3 separate regions of the Homo sapiens genome follow, and all the other regions are linked to region 3. The links are contacts of gene promoters, found by promoter capture Hi-C in blood cells and fetal thymus (Javierre and others, 2016). All regions are on one chromosome and are shown on one strand. The core of a region is centred on a gene start or on the middle of the fragment in contact, and the rest is flanking DNA. Distances in the headings are between cores, read along the strand shown.

Region 1 (3,340 bases), core at 488-2,987, 1.7 Mb after region 3:
GTAATTAGGAGGTCAAAGCAACTCTGGGGGTGAATGTCAAATTGCAGCAGGTTGAGGAGTAAGAGGGTAGTGAGGAAATGGAGAGTGTTGAGTGTAGACTACTCTTTTGAGATGTTTTGATGGGAAGGGTGGGAATGATAAGCTGATGATAACCCAACAGAGGGATGCAGGGTCAAAGGAGATTTTGCTTGTGTTGCTGTTATTGTTGTTTTGTTTAAGATGAGAAAAGCTCAGGCACGTTCCTAGGTTGAAGAGCAAGAGCCAGCAGAGCAAGGTAGAGGCTGGGGTGAGGCCCCAGCGATGCTGGCAGAGGTGGCTCCAGAGCACAGGTGGAGGAGCAGGCTTTGAGGTGGGGCAAGGCCACCTCATCCTGAGACTGGCGAGAAGGTTGAGTGCAGCCGCAGATCAGTTCACGAGGGCTGGACCTCAGGTCGAGGGGGCCCTGCCGGATGCCTCCATGTGCTCGAGGAAGCTAGGGTGAAATGGGAGAGGGGGAGGGGCTTGAGGTGAGCGGTAAGGGTTTAGAATAGTGAGGAAATGGGAGAGAAAGTGGTCAGAAAACAAGTAAAAGTTCAGACAAGCAGAACTGAGGCCTCGCCCGAGATTAAAAATCATACCTCTGCAGTGGCAGCAATCCGCAGGGCTATGTGGTTTTCTCCAGCAGAGCTCAGCTACCCGGGCTGAGGAGCAGGGGAAGCAGAATGGGGAGGATCAATTCCAGCTCAGGGGTTTGCAAGTCAGATATGGCCAAAGGATGGGCAAAGCTGAAGGTGCTGATGATGAGTGGCCGAACTGAGCAACCACAGACAGGATAGAGAGGAAGCAAGGTCAAGGGATGCAGGAAATGGAGGGATGGAGATCTGGATGCAGGCAAAGAGCAGATGTCATGGGATGCAAGGGTGAGAACTAGAAGGACGAGAAGTGGTGGTCACCGAGTGGGATGCTGGGATGTGAGCTTTCAGAGGTGGAATAGCTCCGAATGATGGAAATGGGTTGCTGAGTGTAGTGGAGAATGAAAGTCACTGGAGTTGAGGAGCTGTAGAGTGTCAGATGAGTCATCCAAATGAAACAGATATTGCTCAAGAAAGCAAGAAGGGAATCAGGCGCTAAAGGCTTCCATGATTATGAGGGAAGTGGCTCAGGGTCAGGAAATGACAGAGAAAAGGAAAGGGAGACAACCACAGGTATTTACCAGTGCAATATTCAGTTTGACCATAGAACCCAGGGTGGATAGGGTAAAGGAGACTCACAGGAGGTATGGCTACCATGGTAAGTTGGGCCAGAATCAGAAAGATCTTTGAATGTCAGGCTAAGAAGCCTAGACTTAACAGGAAGGCAATAGGGAGCAACTGAAGGTTGCTAAGCAACTATCAGAGGTATACTTTGGAAAGATAATAGAGGAAACAGCACTGGGCTTGGAGTCAGAAGACCTGGGTTCAATAATAAACAGCAGCTACCATTTATTGTGCACTTACTCTGTGCAGGCCACTGTGCTAAGCACTCTAGGGGGATTGTCTTATCCATTCCCACACTGGACTCAGTTCAGTCAGGTCTTAAGCTGTATGATCTTAGGTAAGAAAACCCTACCCCTCCCCTCTCTGGACTCAGTTGTCCCATCTGTCAGTGGGAGTGAGACTGGGCTAGACTGTCCCCAAAGGGCCCTTCTAACTCAGTCATTCTAGGGCAGTGTGGCCCTGAGGCTTGAAGGGCCTCACCCTCTTACCGGATGGAATTCAAGAGACTTACATCCGAAGGAGTTGGGGGCTGGCCCAGCAAGGTGAGCCCAAGCAGGACTCAACCATCCGGGGCCAGTCAAGGGAGGCGGAGCAGTTGAACAGCCTCCAGCCCCTTCTTGCTTCCCACTGGCCTGCAGAAAATCGGCGAGCATTCCGTCCTGAGAGAGAAGAGAGGATCTAAGGAGAAGGAAGCAGTGAGCCCCCCACCCAACATTTCACCTCAGAAAGTTTGGCTCTGTCCCTCCCCATCCCCCCAGACTCCCCACCTATACCTCCCAACTGCTCAAAGAATTCAGGGCACTTTGCCCCAGCCCAGTTTAGTTGGCTCTGAGAAGAAAAGGAAAAGGGAGATTTGTCCACTGCTGCCGTGGGGCCCTCTTGGGCAAACCTAAACCTTTAACACGGGAGGTGTTTGCCTGGTGCTTCTTAGCAGAGAGCTGAGGACAGTGGCAGAGGCTCCTGCCTGGGCTGCCTTAGGCCCTAGGGCTAGGGCTAGTCTCCCTCACCAGTCTTGGTGTTGGCCACGATCAGTTCAACGGTCCATCTGAGGATGTAGGTAGGCCGGATCCCGCTGATCCCCAAGGCTGGCAGTTCAGAGAGCATCCTCTCCAATAGGGCCTGCGTGAAGTTCTGGGAGTGCAGGCCCCTGAGCAGGGGCTGCCAGAACTGAGAGAACGGCTTTGGCACCAGGACGTCATTCAAGTCCACGTTTTCTGGTTTGTAAGGGACACCCATTTGGGGGGGCAATAGGAGAGAGAGAGCAGGAGAGCACGAAAGAGAGAGCAAGAGACAGCAAGAGAAAGGAAGTGAGAGTGAGAGCAAGAGAATGTGTGCGCGCGCATGAGCCAAGCCCCCCACCAACAACAGAGTTGCCACCGCAGAACAAAGGAAAGAGGAGAGCAGAACAGTGGGGAGAGAGAAACCAGTTAGTATCTGGCAACCAACAACTGACTCAAAATAAAGTATAAACAAAACAGAGATCTGGTTCTAGCTTCAGCTTTGTCAATAACTCACTGTGTGACTTTGGGTCAGTACCTTCCCCTCTCTGGACCTCAGTCTGACCATCTGTAACATGAGGATGTTGGACTAGATGACCTCACAAGGCCCCTCCAATTCTGCTGTTCTAGCTCTCTAGCTAGCAGCTAAATCACAACGAACATGGCACAATAATGTCATTAAGACTCCCCGACCCCACCCCATCCCACCCCACCCCATTCCAGAGCACTTAAGGGCAGCCCCACAACTGTCAGTGGGGCTACCTGTTCTGCTCAGCCAGGAAGGCTGAGGGACTTTCAGAGGCCATGGAATGGCAGGAAACAGCCTTCACACCCCAACCCAGGGCCCCCCAGCCCACCCCAGCTGTTTCCACCCAGGAATCAGAACCCTAAGGGTGCAGTGAGCCCCCAGAACCCTACCTTCATATTCTATCTGCAAAGCTGCCAACTGTTCAAATGTGGGGACAAGGAAGCCATCATCCAGAAAAGCATCCAGCACAGCCTCCCTGGAACAAGAGGACACTAGTTTAGCAAAGTGATGCTGGCAGAAGACCCTCTCCTACTCCTCCACCCACCTCCAAAGCAGCTAATGCCTCTGGCTCAAGTGGC
Region 2 (3,440 bases), core at 300-2,799, 1.7 Mb after region 3:
CCACAATCCCACCCCCCAAAAGCCATGCAGTGGGTGCACTCAACACCCGTTCGGCCAGCAGCCCAGTGCCAGGATCCTCCCATTTCCCCCACCAGAAGGCCTCTTTGGAGCATATGGCCAGCATGCAGTATCCTCCCATCTTGGTTACCAACAGCCATGGGACCCCTATTAGCTATGCTGAGCAATACCCAAAGTTTGAATCCATGGGGGACCATGGCTACTATTCAATGTTAGGTGACTTCTCCAAACTGAACATCAACAGCATGCATAACCGAGAGTATTACATGGCTGAAGTAGACCGGGGGGTGTATGCCCGGAATCCTAACCTCTGTTCTGACAGCCGTGTGAGCCATACCAGGAATGACAACTATTCCTCTTACAACAACGTGTATTTGGCTGTAGCTGATACCCATCCTGAAGGCAATTTGAAGCTGCACCGCTCAGCATCCCAGAACCGACTTCAGCCTTTTCCTCATGGTTACCATGAAGCCTTAACACGAGTGCAGAGCTATGGCCCAGAGGATTCTAAGCAAGGCCCCCACAAACAGTCAGTCCCCCACTTAGCTCTGCATGCCCAGCACCCATCAACTGGAACACGTTCCAGCTGTCCTGCAGACTACCCCATGCCTCCCAATATCCATCCTGGGGCAACCCCCCAGCCAGGCCGTGCCCTGGTGATGACTCGGATGGATAGCATTTCCGACTCCCGCCTCTATGAGAGCAACCCCGTGAGGCAAAGACGACCTCCCCTGTGCCGGGAACAGCATGCCAGCTGGGACCCGCTGCCCTGTACAACTGACTCCTATGGCTACCACTCCTATCCCTTGAGTAACAGCCTCATGCAACCATGTTATGAGCCAGTCATGGTACGGAGCGTGCCTGAAAAGATGGAGCAGCTTTGGAGGAATCCTTGGGTTGGAATGTGCAATGATTCCAGGGAGCATATGATCCCAGAACACCAGTATCAGACCTACAAGAACCTCTGCAATATTTTCCCTTCTAACATCGTCCTTGCAGTGATGGAGAAGAATCCCCACACAGCAGATGCCCAGCAACTGGCAGCCTTGATTGTTGCTAAGCTTAGGGCTGCACGTTGATATGACATAGTACTTATTTCTTTATACAAATATGAATATTAATACTAATAATACACTAATACAATAATTATAGTAACTAATAATTTGTGTTGCGCTTTACAAGTTAGAGTGTTTATATCATTTAAGCGCTTAACAACCCTGTGAGGTACGTCTTACTAACATCCTCTTTTATAGAGAAGGAAGGTGAAGGTCAGTGAAATTAAGTGGCTAGCCAGGGTCACACTGCTAGCAAATGACTAAGTCAAGACACACACCCAAGTCCTCTAAATCCAAGTCCCATGCCCCTTTGCACTGCACCATGCAGGTAATGGAGGACAAAACCCAGGGGGAGAGGTCTAGATGTAAGAAATCCCAGAGGATTCCATTACCAGAGTTTTCCTTTTTCTCTTTTCGTTTCTTTCTTTCTTTCTTTATTTTTTTTTTTTGAGACAGAATCTCACTCTGTTACACAGGCTGGAGTGCAGTGGCACTATCTCTGCTCACTGCAACCTCCACCTCCAGGGTTCAAGTGATTCTATGGCCTCAGCCTCCCAGGTAGCTGGGATTACAGGCGTGCACCACCATGCCCAGCTAATTTTTGTATTTTTAGTAGAGACGTGGTTTCACCGTGTTGGCCAGGCTGGTCTCAAACTCCTGGCCTCAAGTGATCCGCCCACCTTGGCCTCCTAAAGTGCTGGGATTACAGGTGTGAGCCACTGCGCCCAGCCTACCAGAGTTTTCGTAGTCACATATTCTATATTACAAAGTATGGATGATATATCCAATTTAGAGAGCAAAAGCATCAGGATCAGATCATATGTTGAATTAACCTTTTAGGTTTTTTCTAATAGAAATATTTAAAGCTATTTAAAAGTAAATGCATACTTTATTGCATGGATATCTGATCACTCAATCTATATTAATGAAACTATAGGGTCACATTGAAGCTTCTAGAACTATATTTTAAAGCTATTATTAGCAATTATATTGCATGTATGAATATATATATTTGGTTTGAGATGTGTGTGTATCTCTGTATAACCTTTTATATAGTGATAATGAGAGGGTAGGCTCTACACAGTCCTTCGTCTATAGCTGTATAGGTCACTAATCTGACTTGATGATTTTAAGTCACATTTCATAGTTTTAACTAGTTATGAGAGAGAAATTATATGGCAATATTTGAACATTGCTTTCTTAGGCACCAGAGCAAAGCAACTCTGTTTCCTTTGCACATTTTACCTGCCAACATTTATTAACAGTTCTTACCTTCCAAGTCTCTTCACCTTAGCAAATTAGGGATCAGGTTGCAGTCTTCTGCAGAGAAACTGATGGTTAAGCTCAAGTTCCAAGCATAGTATGTGTGTGCTACACAAGCTCAGAAGAGTTTGACAAGGACCAGGGGACTTACTACCACAATCCACTTCCCTTATCCCAGGAGAGATGGCCAAACCCATGTGGCATTAAATGGTGAATAAAAAAGCTTCACTCAAGGAGGGACTATTGGATGCTCTTTGGACTTCTGACCTATGCAGTATTCAACATCATTGGATGAAATGTAATGGAGGACAGTGCACAGCCATGTATCCACTTTCTCTTCCTGTCCACCCTTTGGGTAATAAGGTCAATCATTGGTGGAACAGAATTTCTCTAGGAAACAAAACCAGGGGATTTTATTTGTGGAAAAAGGAAGTTTCCAAAAGGGGATACTGCATCTTTACTAATAGCTGGCTCAGTTACTCACTTTAAATCCATGCAAAGAGTGCACTTGCTGTTAAATAATTGTTAAATGAGTTATTAGAAGGCAGGACTTTTGGTTTGGGCGACACCATTTGCGCAACTTGTATCTTGCTCAGGGTGGAAAACTTCATAGCTAAATGCCTCTAGAAGAGGTGTTTATTGTTTTTTTTAAGCTGCACTAAATGAATTCCCTTTTTGAATCCATTGTATATTTCAATATTTCGAACCATGATCAGCTCACTATTTCCTGAGCTGGAACTTGCTAACTTCTATGATCGTTTTTTCATGAAAGTTGAGAAGGCCGGGCCTTGGCCTTTTGTTTCTTCATGAGAAGGTGTGACACTGCCTATAAATGTTTCTTACTGTGAAACACTCTGAATGTGAGGCTGTAGTCAGGGTTGTTTCTGGTGGTTTGACAATGGCTTGCATGCTGCTTTCTGGCTTTCTGTCTCTGTCCAAGTTGATCAATACTGCATCTTAACCAATGTTTCACTTGAGTTAACCACAGCTTTACATTCTATCTCCTATCTTCTGATCTTCGTATACCCCAGCATATTGAAAAAGAGTAAAAGTATTTTCTATCAATCAGGTAGATCCACAGAGTGACAGTTGCCACTGCAGTGC
Region 3 (3,624 bases), core at 875-3,374:
CCACCCTTTTCTCTCTCATACACTGTTGGCAAAACTTCAAATTTCTTCATTAATTTAACCTGTTGTCAATGAGTGGCTCTGGGCCCCTATACTTCAATATATTTGGGAGAGGAAGTAAGTCTCACCCTGACCCAGTTCCCAGTTGCCAGAAATGCCAGGACTGGCATGGATTTTTTTCGGGTAATTTTTTTTTTTTTTTTTTGAGATGGAGTTTCGCTCTTGTTGCTCAGGCTGGACTGCAACGGCACAATCTCGGCTCACCGCAACCTCCCCCTCCTGGGTTCGAGTGATTCTCCTGCCTCAGCCTCAGGCATGTGCCACTACGTCCAGCTAATTTTGTCTTTTTAGTAGAGACGGGGTTTCTCCACGTTGGTCAGGCTGTTCTTGAGCTCCCGACCTCAGATGATCCACCCGCCTCGGCCTCCCAAAGTGCTGGGATTACAGGCGTGGGCGGCCGCGCCCGGCTTTCAGGTAAATTTAATGGCACTAGATCATCCTGAAGAAAGTCCTTTCCCAAGATCATGACTATGTTCCTTTCTTCCCCTCTCAGCACCATTTGAGCAAATGATTGGTGGAGCAGTGGGGAAGGACTGTGGCAGTCAGGAGACTCAAGTGCTAGACTCAGCTTTGCCTCCAAGGAGTTTGTGGTCCTGGGCAAGTCTCTCCCACTCTCTGGATCCCAGCTTTCCTGGCTGGACAGCAAGGACTCTAAGGTCTTTACCTGCTCTAATCTTTTCTGGTTCTACAAACATTTGATGCAGCTTTAATGGGACCTCAGGGAAGTAGGGAGGTCTGGGAAGAAGGGTCTTTTGAAGCCCCAGCACATAGGCATATGAACCGGATGCCCTTAAGAACCACTGAAACAGAGATCTAACAAAACTCTGAGGAAGGGAAGAGGACAGCCCCTCTGAATATAGTCCTAGCCCACACCAGATTCCCTCTTCCCCTCCACAATGAAAGCAAAAATGGAGTTAAATATCAGTTTTTGCCCAACCACTTCAGGCTACTTTCCTTCATCTGCGGGTTATGGGTGGCAGCGTAGAAGTGTGGGCTATTGCCATCAGTGCCTGCTGACCCAACCTAACTGCCTTCTAAGGCCCTTTTGCTTATGCCTCCCAGCTGAGGACAAAGTCATGGGGGCCTCCCACTCCCCAGAGGCCCTAACCAGGCTTAAGCTGCTCCTGGCTAAGTCAGAGAGGCATCAAAATGCAGCCACCACTTCCTCTCTGCAAAAGGAAGTCATTCCAAGGTCTCCAGGTGGAGAAGGGAACACCATGGCATAAAATGAACTGTTGGAGGATTATACTAAACACACACACAAGCACACACTCCTTGGGAGGGAGAGAAGAGCTCTGTTAACTGACTGTGGCCCAAGCCCATTTCCAGAATGTGGGTTTCTGCAGCTGTCTCTCCTTGACAAAGCCCCAAGTGTGGACAGGGTGACCCCAGCCCGGACAAGGAAGGGCTTTAGGGCTCCCTCAGGCAGCTTCCTGAGAGAGAGAGAGTGGCTCTCTGGCCCTCATGCTCTGGGGCTGACCAGGGAAAGGAGTTGCAGAAAATCTAGTTGGGGGCAGGGGGGAGTCATGCAGCTCTCCCATAAGGCCCCCTCCACAATTCCAGGCTTTGTGACCGTCCCCTCCCCCCACAACCCCGTGCCAGCTTGTCAGCCTCCTGCGAGCTTCACTGCTTCCAGAGAAGCCCTCTGCCATCCCCCTTCCCTCTCTGGCCTCCCAAGTGACCCCTGGGATGTTCCTGGGCACATAATCTGGCCCCCACCCCTATTCCACCTTAATCTCAGAGGGAGATAGAAAAGTGGAGGGGGATGGTAGGGGGGTTTCCTGGGCAGGCAGGCTAGCAGGGACTCCTAAAATGGCCACAGCAAGCTCACTGGTGTCTCAAGGACGGCGGCTAGGGCGGTGGGCAGAGGCCAGGGTGCTCACTGCCTTGTGGCTCGTTGGAGGAACTGGAGGTGGGGCTGGGGGACTGAGAGGCTCAAGCAAGGGAAGCCAAGGTTACATGCACTCACCATTCCCGATCCGCCCCTTATCCACTGCATGGTGCTTGCGAAGTCCGGCTTCTCTGAGGCCCCGTAGCTGGCGCGAGTTGTCGCGGGCTGACTAGAAGGGCTGGGCTGAAGCAAGCGAGAGCCCCAGCGCCCCCTCCGCCGCCCCTCCTCCACAGCCCTACAACCCAATCCCCTCCGCCCCGGACCTCGCCTTCAGTCAGTTTGTTCCATGCCAACCGGCAGGCTCTGTCTCTCCGCCCTGCTGCTCCTAGAGGTCTTGGCAGGGAGAGGTGCGAGTGTGGGGGGGTCCTAATGGGCTGCTTTTGTCCCCCACCAAGGCTTGAGAACTGTGGGGGTGGGGTGCAGGGAGAGGATGGGGGCGAATAGCCTCCGCCCGCCCAGGAGAAGGCAGCTGCTACCTCTGCCTGCCTCCCGCTGCGCTGGAGTTAGATGCTGTTTATTGTGGGGCTTCCCAATTGTGTCGAGTCAGCGGAAAGTCCTTTCCAAAGTTACCAGAGGTGTTGTGCCAATCTCCAGAATAATAAGATCCTGCCCCAGTGGAGCCAAGCCAGCACTCTCATGCCTCCCTCCCCCACCCTCCCTCTGCATACTCCCCTAGGGTCTTCTCTCTTTGTGTACTATCTGAGAGCTTTCATCTGCATTACTTTCACTTCTCAGAACAACCCTGTAGAGGCAGCCATTAGTATCTCCAAGTTATAGATAAATAAATGGAGGTTTGGAAGAGGGAAGGGGCATAAGGTCACATTAAAGAAAAAAAAAAGATAAATCCTCGACTTTACCCTCTGCGGCTTTCCAAGCCTCTTTCGGCTATCTCTCCCTTTCTATCTCACACACACCACTCCAGGCTTCTCCTTCATGCCCTTAGGAACATGAAAGGTAGCTTGTTGATGGACGAATTTTCCATTTGCTTATTTTGCTGAGAATGAGTTGAATGCACATCAGCGAAACAGGCAAACGGAGAAACCACCCACCTCTTTATGATTCCCCCAACTCTGGGGAACACAACACAGGCTGGTACCTTTGCTTAGGCTAAAAATTGACTTTGTCAGTCACACTAACATCTGTTATTATCCCTTATAATCCTCACAGTAACTCTATGAGATGGACACAACAAGGATTCTTAATTGCCCACCATTACAGACTTGAACACTGAAGCCCAGAGATTGAAAGACTTCTGCTTAAAGTAGCACAGCCAAACAAGACAAGAATCCAAGGCTCCTGACTAGAAGAGCAGGTCAGGCAAAGACAGAATTGCAAAAACAGAGGTTGCAACCAAAGTAAAAGGAGTTACAGTATGATATTAGAAAGAAGTTCCTGGAGATAATTGACATGAAGACATCACTGGCCTGTTACACGTACTTTATTTGTCCTCTTCTTTTTAGCACAACTTCTGCACTTCATCCAACCTGTTGTTTTGTCCATGCAGAGCTGGGCAAAGATAGAAGCAGTACCTTAATGAGCACCCCATCATGGGAGGTGTACAAGCAGAAGCTGAATGACCCTTTGGCAAGGGATTCCTGAATCAAATGGGAGGTTGCCCTGGATGACCTTTCAACTTCCCTCCCAAGTCTGGTAACCCAGGCATCAGTGATTCCACA

The links. The method cuts DNA at HindIII sites, captures the fragments that hold promoters and counts their contacts. A CHiCAGO score of 5 or more calls a contact.
Region 1: a fragment that was not itself captured here is called in contact with the fragment with the promoter of ARHGEF9 in region 3 in 4 of 17 cell types (naive B cells, fetal thymus, naive CD4 T cells and 1 more); the score reaches 7.2 in naive B cells.
Region 2: a contact is called between a fragment that was not itself captured here and the fragment with the promoter of ARHGEF9 in region 3, in 4 of 17 cell types (total B cells, total CD4 T cells, naive CD8 T cells and 1 more). The highest score is 9.4, in total B cells.

Annotation. Positions count from the first base shown.
Region 1 is chrX:65,521,814-65,525,153 of GRCh38, forward strand. It overlaps LAS1L (LAS1 like ribosome biogenesis factor), which reads right to left. Exons shown (of 14, transcript NM_031206.7): 8 at 3,152-3,237; 9 at 2,751-2,801; 10 at 2,243-2,449; 11 at 1,747-1,894. Among named protein-coding and RNA genes, the nearest start is that of LAS1L, 11 kb to the right of the region's middle. The HindIII fragment of the contact is 4,278 bases long and covers 1-3,340 here.
Region 2 is chrX:65,502,113-65,505,552 of GRCh38, forward strand. It overlaps ZC3H12B (zinc finger CCCH-type containing 12B), which reads left to right. Exons shown (of 10, transcript NM_001010888.4): 10 at 1-3,440. The coding sequence ends at 1,097. Among named protein-coding and RNA genes, the nearest start is that of LAS1L, 31 kb to the right of the region's middle. RefSeq lists enhancers at 200-700, 701-1,201. The HindIII fragment of the contact is 944 bases long and covers 1,078-2,021 here.
Region 3 is chrX:63,783,090-63,786,713 of GRCh38, forward strand. ARHGEF9 (Cdc42 guanine nucleotide exchange factor 9) reads right to left here and starts at 2,125. Exons shown (of 10, transcript NM_001353921.2): 1 at 2,027-2,125. The coding sequence starts at 2,056. MIR1468 (microRNA 1468) reads right to left here and starts at 2,998; the gene lies at 2,913-2,998. The HindIII fragment of the contact is 6,142 bases long and covers 1-3,624 here.